Linked DNA regions of Homo sapiens: region 1 is linked to region 2. Evidence: promoter capture Hi-C in human tissues and cell types (Jung and others, 2019). All regions are on one chromosome and are shown on one strand. Each heading gives the region's core, a stretch centred on a gene start or on the middle of the fragment in contact. The rest is flanking DNA. Distances are from core to core; before and after follow the strand shown. Region 1 has its middle 21 kb from the start of CLDN19. Region 2 holds the start of PPIH (peptidylprolyl isomerase H).

Region 1 (3,767 bases), core at 624-3,123, 61 kb after region 2:
CCCTGAGAAGGTTGGGAAGGGAGCTATATTGAGTTAGATTAGGAGATGTAGAGAGCTAATGAGAATTAACAGTCAGGCAGTGACAGCTGACTGGGGAAGTTTGGACGCCTAGCTGAGACTGAGGCACACAGTCAAGTGTAATGCATGACAGGTTAGGTCCCAAAGTCCAGATGAGTAATGAGACCTCAACCAGAAATATGGAGTAAGAAAGAGGGGCTCAAGTTTGAGATATTTTCAGAAATCGAGTTGGCAGATGTAGGTAACTAGCTGAATGCACGGATGACTGCAGAATGTTGATGCAGATACTGTCATTCGCTGGAATAAAAACATGCATAAAGAGGAGAGGGGTCTGATAGCTCAGTTGAGATATGTGGAGTTTGAGGACCTGTGGGGGCACCCATGGGGAGTGTGTCGGAAGCTAAGGAGGGAGGTGTAGGCCGAGGCAGAGTGACACTCATCAGGTGGCTATTGGAAGCTGTGATCATGGGTAAAATCATATCCCTTTAGGGGCATTTGTGGAGAGATGAGGATGGAGACACAAACTTTTGGAACAAGGTCAAGACATAGAAGTGATGGCTAGAAAAAGATGTGGCAAATCCAGAAAGGGGGCATCACAGAAAACTGGGGAGCAAAATAGGAAATTGCTCACAACATCAAAGCCAATAGGTCCAAGAAGATGGGAGTTGAAAAGTGTTTACTGGCCTTAGCAACCAGGAGATGACTGGTGAGAGGAGTGGAATGTGGAGGTGACCCTCAGACTGCAGCAGGCGAGGGGTGCATAGGGCAGCTACAGCGCACCTGCTGCTCCCGCAGCCTTCCGCATCTCCACAATGGCTGGTCCATCCTTACAGGTCCATGCCAAAACCCTCAGTCATCCTTGACTTCTCAATTTCCCTCCAATGAGTCTGCAGATTCCATTGATTCTGACTTTGAAACAGCTAGAATCTGACCACTTACCTCTGACCACTTGGGTCCAGGCTGTGGTAGCCTCCCTGCTACCATCTTCCTACCCTAACACCTGTGTCAGGCCTCGAGACACTCCTGCTCAAAATCCTTCAGAGGCTTCCAGTCTCACTTTTGAGCAGAAGCCAGCATCCTCCAGGAGCCTCCACAATGTGCCCCCACCTGCCCCATGCCATCTACTCTCTCCCCTGGTTTACTCCACCCAACCTCACAGGCTTCCTTTTCATGGCACTCTTCCACCTCAAGGCATTCACACCTGTTTTTCCCTTCTGACTGGAAGAATGTTCTGCCGGATAAGTTAGTGGCTTTCTTCCTCAGTTCTTTAGGTCTTTGATCAGCAGGGCCTCCCCTGCCTACCTGTTTAAGATGGCCACCCCTTCCCATGGCCAGCCCCCAATTCCTGGCCTTCCTGATTTTCCTCCATGGTGCATGTCATCTGCTGGCTACATTAACTTGCTTGCTAACTATCTTGCTCTGATAGGAGTTAAGCTACATAAGGGTAGGGATTTCTGTCTGTTTTGTTCACTGCTGCTATATCCCAGCATCTATAATGGGGCTAAAAGAGTACAGAACAAAAGCTCAATACGTATGTTGAAATTAATAAATTATGGATAACCATGAAGAGGCTTGGCAGCTGAGTGAAGGAAACGAGGGCTGCTGCTAGAAAGGGACTGTGGAACCATGTCTTAGCCTGCTTGGGCTGCTGTAGCAAAATACCAGAGACTAAGTGGCTTAAGCAGTAGATATTTATTTCTCATGGTTCTGGAGACTGGCAAGTCCAGGTCAAGGTAACAGTAGATTTGGTTCCGGTGAGGGTCCTCTTCTGACATGGATTGCACAAAGCCACCTTCACCACCACCTCACGGTGTCCTCACATGAGAGAAACTTGGAAAGCAACTCGGAGTAAGAAAACCTGAGCTCTAGTCCTGCCAATGAAACTTCATCTTAAGTCCTAACGATCACCTCCTTTGCCAATACCAGAAGCCACTTGCCTCCGGAATCCAGGACATGGGAGAAAATTAAACACCTAATTAAAAAAAAAGGGGTATAAATAGTACTCACTTCCTAAAGTTGTGAGGATGAAACAAGAATCAATGAAACCACATTTTGTTAGTGCTCAATAAGTCTTGGCTGACTGGGTACAGTGGCTCATGCCTGTAATCTCAGCACTTTGAGAGGCCGAGACAGGAGGATCATTTGAGCCCAGGAGTTTGAGATCAGCCTGAGCAACATAGTGAGACCCAATCTCTTAAAAAAATTTTTTTTGGGCCGGGCACGGTGGCTCACACCTGTAATCCCAGCACTTTGGGAGGCCGAGGCGGGTGGTTCATGAGGTCAGGAGTTTGAGACCAGCTTGATCAACATGAAGAAACCCCGTCTCTACTAAAAATACAAGTGGTGGCGTGCGCCTATAATCCCAGCTACTCAGGAGGCTGAGGCAGGAGAATCACTTGAACCCGGGAGGCGGAGGTTGCGGTGAGCTGAGATCATGCCACTGCACTCCAGCCTGGGCGACAGAGCGAGACTCCGTCTCAAAAAAAAGAAAACAAAAAAAATTTTTTTTTTGCCGGGCATAATGGCACATGCCTGTAGTCCCAGCTACTTGGGAGGCTGAGGCGGGAGGATGGCTTGAGCCTGGGAAGTCAAGGCTGCAGTGAACTATGATTGCACCACTGTACTCCAGCCTGGGCAACAGGGCAAAACTCTGTCTCAAAAAAATAAATAAGTTTTGTGTTATTATTACAGGAATAATGTAAGGATAAACTGAGATAATAGGTATAAAAATTGTAAACTGTAAAAGTGTAGTTGCCACAAGAAAGTGGTTTATAGACCTCCAACTACAGGGAGTGTAATTAACCAAGGGCCGGAGTTGCTTTGCTCTAAAATTTACCACCTTATTTGCCCTGAGGCTCTGCTTACCAAATGCTCCCAAGCTGATGGCTGAGTGTGGCAGGGATTCTAAAACAGGCCTTTTCCTGGGAGACATGGGACTGACAGCCGACTATGCCTCAAGGTCTCCCCTGATGCTCATGCCAAGCTTTCCTTAGACTTATGTAGTGATCTAGGATGCTTCCACCCAGCATCCTGGGCCAGGCTGGCATCACTGTGGGATGGCTCTCCCAGCTGCCTCTCCATTTTCTCTCACAAATATTTCCCTAATAAAATTCTTACATATTTAATCCCACTAGGGGGTCTACTGTTTGGAGGACCCAGACTATCATAAAAAGCATCATTTAAAAAGTAGGAAGGTGAGGGCTGGGCATGGTGGCTCACACCTGTAATCCCAGCAATTTGGGAGGCTGGGGCAGGCAGATCACTTGAGGTCAGAAGTTTGAGACCAGCCTGGCCAACATGGTGAAAACCCATCTCTACTAAAAATAGAAAAATTAGCTGGGCGTGGTGGTGCACACCTGTAGTTCCAGCTACTCGGGAGGCTGAGGTAGGAGAATCGCTTGAACCTGGGAGGCAGAGGTTGCAGTGAGCTGAGATGGAGCAACTGCGCTCCAGCCTGGGCGACAAAGCAAGACACTGTCTCAAAAAAAGATAAATAAATAAAAATTAAAAAATAAAAAGAAGGTGAGAGGATTCTGGGAAAATCCTGGATGAGTAGGAAGCAACAGCATTTTGCCCTGCCCCCACAACACGGACAATAAGTACACTGACAATCTGTTTGATGTAATTATTTTGGAGTCTGTTGAAGTCTTGCAACTTCCAGAGGAGGCTTGGATGTGAAATTGCAGTTAATTCCAATCCATTTCAACTCCCAGCTCAGCTGCAGCTACCTATCCCCTTCTCCCCTAACC
Region 2 (4,296 bases), core at 668-3,167:
CTGTAGTCCCTGCTATGCGGGAGGCTGAGGCTCGAGAATCACCTGAACCCAAGAGGTAGAAGTTTCAGTGAGCTGAGACCACTCCACTGTACTCCAGCCTGGGCAAAAAGTGAGACTCTGTCTCAAAAAATAATAATAATAAATACATAAATAATAAAATAAATAAAAAGTGTGTCAACATACTGTTTTCATAGTCAAGTTACTCAACCTCCTTGAGCCTCAATTTCTTGATTCCTAAAATGGGAACAATAATAGTTCTCTATCCCATAGGGTTGTGAGGACCAAATGAAATGAAGCATGTAAAGTATTTAGCACGTAGTAACTGCTTAATAAATGCTATCATCATTTATTTTCACTAGAGGTTTATCAATGTACTATTTTTTTCACAACCTCATCAACATTGGATATTATCAATTTTAAAGATTTATTCTAAAACAGTTGGTATAAAATTATACTGAAGCGTGACTGCTGCTGTTCCTTTTCCCCCTCCTCCCCTTTCTTCTTTTTCAGTTGGAGGAGACCAAGAGGAGAGGATCAGTAACCAGAAATAAAAATGACCCTTTACATTGAGACACACTGTATTTTTATATGTAATCCTTGCTTTCTCAGACAACAGAGCTAGAAAGATGATCATAGGAACTAGGAAATAATAACTATTTTATTAAATGCATGCTGTTATATTGAATGAGCCTTGCCCAAGGTCCCCTTCTTTCACTAAATTCATTGCATCTATTATTTATTGAATACCTACTATATGCTATTCAGTAGGCGACATTGCAGCTACAGCTGCGAATAGGACCAGGAGAGTCTCTACTTTCATGGAGTTTATATGCTATCAGGGAGGAAGATTATGTGTGTGTGGCAGGAAATGAGGTGTAGACACATACCATACGAAGATAATGTGGAAGTGGGGGTGGCATGAAGAAAACAAACCAGTGATCTGAATGACCAAGGGCTACTTTAGATTAGGTCTAATGTTGCCTCTCAGGAGGTAACATCTGGGGTGAGCCCTGAACTACAAGGAGCATTACTTCCCACACGCATACCCCAACCAACCCCCACAATCCCCCGCCAACCCACATTAAGTTCTGGAAGGAATATTTCAGACAGAAGTAACAGCTATTACAAAGCCCTAAAGAGAGGAGGGATCTCAGTGACCTGGAGGAACAGACAGGTCAGAGCACAGTAACTAAGGGCAAGTGGTACAAGATGAGGTCAGGTACGTGATAGCCAGATAAATGCACTGTAGGGCTTCGTATGCACGGAATTGGATTTTATTCTAAATATGGGAAGCCAGGAGTTATTTTTAAAATAAATAGGAAGCACAAGAGTTATTTTAAAAATAAAAAATAAAAAACTCTAGTTGCTTTATGGGAAATGAATTGGAAATGACAAAACTGGTAGCTTTTGTGGCAGAACAAACATTATCTATTGTCCTGACTTAGAGGAAGGGATATTTACTTAGCAAGCCTGTACGTGCCAAGCTGTTCTAAACGCTGAGGATGAACAAACCAGAGTTCCTGCCTTCACGGTGTTCACACTAGCGGGCAGAAGACAGACAGCACGTGTGGCGGTGCAGAGGGCTTGGCTGCAAGAGCCGATAAGGAGGACCCTGGCGACTGCCTAGTCCAAAAGTCCTAGCTAGAGCAAGATCAACTTGTACTGCCCTTAGTACAGCCACGTGAGTGGGGTGACCATTGACCTTAACCAAAAAGATGTCAAGGCTTTCCTCCTCCTCACTCCCGCGTCCCCAGTGCCAGGCAGAGTCTCTCAGCTAGACCCTAGCAGTCTCAGCACACACCGCACGGGGCGACAGCTTCCGGGGGCGGAGCCTGGTCTCGCTCCACGTCTACCGCGCCTGCTCCCCGGACGAAATCCGCGGACCGGGCTTTAGGTTCGCCGGAATCCCACGCTCCCGACTTCTGCTTCCGGGTCGGAGCCATGGCGGTGGCAAATTCAAGTCCTGTTAACCCCGTGGTGTTCTTTGATGTCAGTATTGGCGGTCAGGTGAGATCCAGGAGGCTGCCCACACCTGCGCCGAAGGGAAACTGCTCGGGGCTAGGCAGGCAGAACTCACCCAGAGAGAGCGGACTCGGGAAGCCAGCCAGAAAGTGAAATTGCACCCGAACCTACCGACCTGCCGGGCGGGGGGAAAGGAGGAGGAGGAGTCTCCCCAATCCTAGCGCCCCGCTTCTGGAGGAACTGGGCGGTTAGACTAGGGAGGCGGAGGTGGGAGATACCGAGCGGCAGGGTGGTGGGTCAGCCCATCATGCCCCCTGCTCCGTGAAGCCCTCATGGTCTTGGACTGGGCCTTCTGACACTCTCCCGCTGATTGCAGGAAGTTGGCCGCATGAAGATCGAGCTCTTTGCAGACGTTGTGCCTAAGACGGCCGAGAACTTTAGGTAAGGACGTGCTCCAGCTCCGCTGGATTAGCTGAGGCAGAAGTCGGGCTCCAGTCAGCCGCCTGAAATAGCCTGTCTACCTCTGTCCGTCCGCTCACTGCTCTTGAGACCTGATTCCTCCATGCATTGCTCTGTCTGGTTGCCGTTTGGATTGTTCCCGTGTTAATTTACGTTGTTAGTCTGTGTGACTGCGTGTCTGGACGTCTGGCTGGCCGATTGGTGGACTTGCTGGCTCCAGTGTTTATTCTTTCCCGTATTTAGAGGCGCTCACGACTGTGACATCATAGTGATTGAATCATTCATTTTTTGTCCCTTTCAGGCAGTTCTGCACCGGAGAATTCAGGTCAGTTTCAGATGTGTTTGACTTCTTTGCCTGCTCCAGAGGGGTGTTCTGGGGCTGCAGTGAGGGTATCGGTGAACCACCTGCTGGCCTTGAATGATTGCTGGTGACAGTGATAGAAGGTAATGCCCCAAGGGTCTGTCCCTAGTTTATTTGCCTTCTTTATGTCTGTCAACCATCTTTAGGAGAGTCCTTTTGGCTCCAGTGCATGGTAAACTGGAAAGGCCTTGTGCTACCTGCTGTCACTCCAAGTCTCTTTCTTTTCGGTTATAGGAAAGATGGGGTTCCAATAGGATACAAAGGAAGCACCTTCCACAGGTAAGGCTCTTGGCAAGCCATCCTGGAGTCTTTCAGAAATATTTCCTGGGGGATTAGGCTCTTTAGAGGAAAATAAAACCAGAGGGTAATTCTTACATTTCTTGAGAAGAAATGTTTTTGTGGACTCAACAACTGAAGATTTATTAAATGTTCTAACTCTACTTACACTCCCCCACTTCTTAGGTCTTTAAAACAGAAACTACTCATCTTTACAATATCTTGTCTTTTTCATGCACTTGTTTGTGCGAATGCAGATTTTTTAAAAAGTACACTTGTAATCCTAAAGTGCATATAATATATCCTGCTGGTTGATATTTATAACTAATTCCTAAAATGATCATATATGATTGTCCAAGGATAATCATATTTCCTGGGGAGTGGAGTATGTCAACACTTAGTCTCATTTCAATATAGAATCTTTCTCATGGCCTCACTGTGGTTAGTAACAATGTTAGCACATAATTATATCACAGCTTTAGAGCTTTGGGTCTCTAATCCCCAGTAAGACTCCTGTGAAGTGGTATGGGTGATCTGCATTCTACAGAGGAGGAAACTGAGGATAAGAAAGGTTAAGGACCCTCCCTAGGGGTAATAGCTAACAGTTGTTAAGCCCTTACATGTTTAGCAGTACATTTCACATAAATTCTCTGTAGTTCTTTCCCCCAAATTTACATCAAACCCTTGCTCTGCCTTTTGCTTTGGCAAGTAAGCTTTCAGCCCCTTCTTCTTATTACTGTTCAGGTACCAGATCATGCACTTGATCAACTCTAACATGCCCTAATTTATAACGAAAATCCTTTTTTATGGTTAATTATCCTTTCAGCTTAATCATTCAGGAAAAGAATAATCTTCAGGTTTTTTTTGTTTTGTTTTGTTTTTTTGAGACAGAGTCCCACTCTGTCGCCCAGGCTAAAGTGCAGTGGCATGATCTTGGCTCACTGCAACCTCCGCCTCCTGGGTTCAAGCAATTCTTCTGCCTCAGCCTCCCGAGTAGCCAGGACTACAGGCATGTGCCACCACGCTCGGCTAATTTTTGTATTTTTAGTAGAGACGGGGTTTTGCCATGTTGGCCAGGCTGGTCTCAAACTCCTGGCCTCATGTGATCTGCCTGCCTCGGCCTCCCAAACTGCTGGGATTACAGGCGTGAGCTACCGCACCCAGCTAAGAGTAATGATTTTATAATAGCCAAAGTGATAGTGTATTTTGAAATCAACGTTAATCTAATACAATAATAA

The links. Contacts are between HindIII fragments. The study calls those that stand out against the background at their distance.
Region 1: a contact is called between a fragment that was not itself captured here and the fragment with the promoter of PPIH in region 2, in 1 of the 25 tissues and cell types used here (pancreas).

Annotation. Positions count from the first base shown.
Region 1 is chr1:42,717,197-42,720,963 of GRCh38, forward strand. No RefSeq gene overlaps it. Among named protein-coding and RNA genes, the nearest start is that of CLDN19, 21 kb to the right of the region's middle. The HindIII fragment of the contact is 7,093 bases long and covers 1-3,767 here.
Region 2 is chr1:42,656,506-42,660,801 of GRCh38, forward strand. It overlaps PPIH (peptidylprolyl isomerase H), which reads left to right and starts at 1,918. Exons shown (of 10, transcript NM_006347.4): 1 at 1,918-2,007; 2 at 2,339-2,403; 3 at 2,723-2,746; 4 at 3,017-3,061. The coding sequence starts at 1,942. CCDC30 (coiled-coil domain containing 30) reads left to right here. Exons shown (of 21, transcript NM_001395517.1): 21 at 1-685. The region is part of intron 1 of LOC124904162 (a long non-coding RNA gene); the gene reads right to left. The HindIII fragment of the contact is 7,698 bases long and covers 1-4,296 here.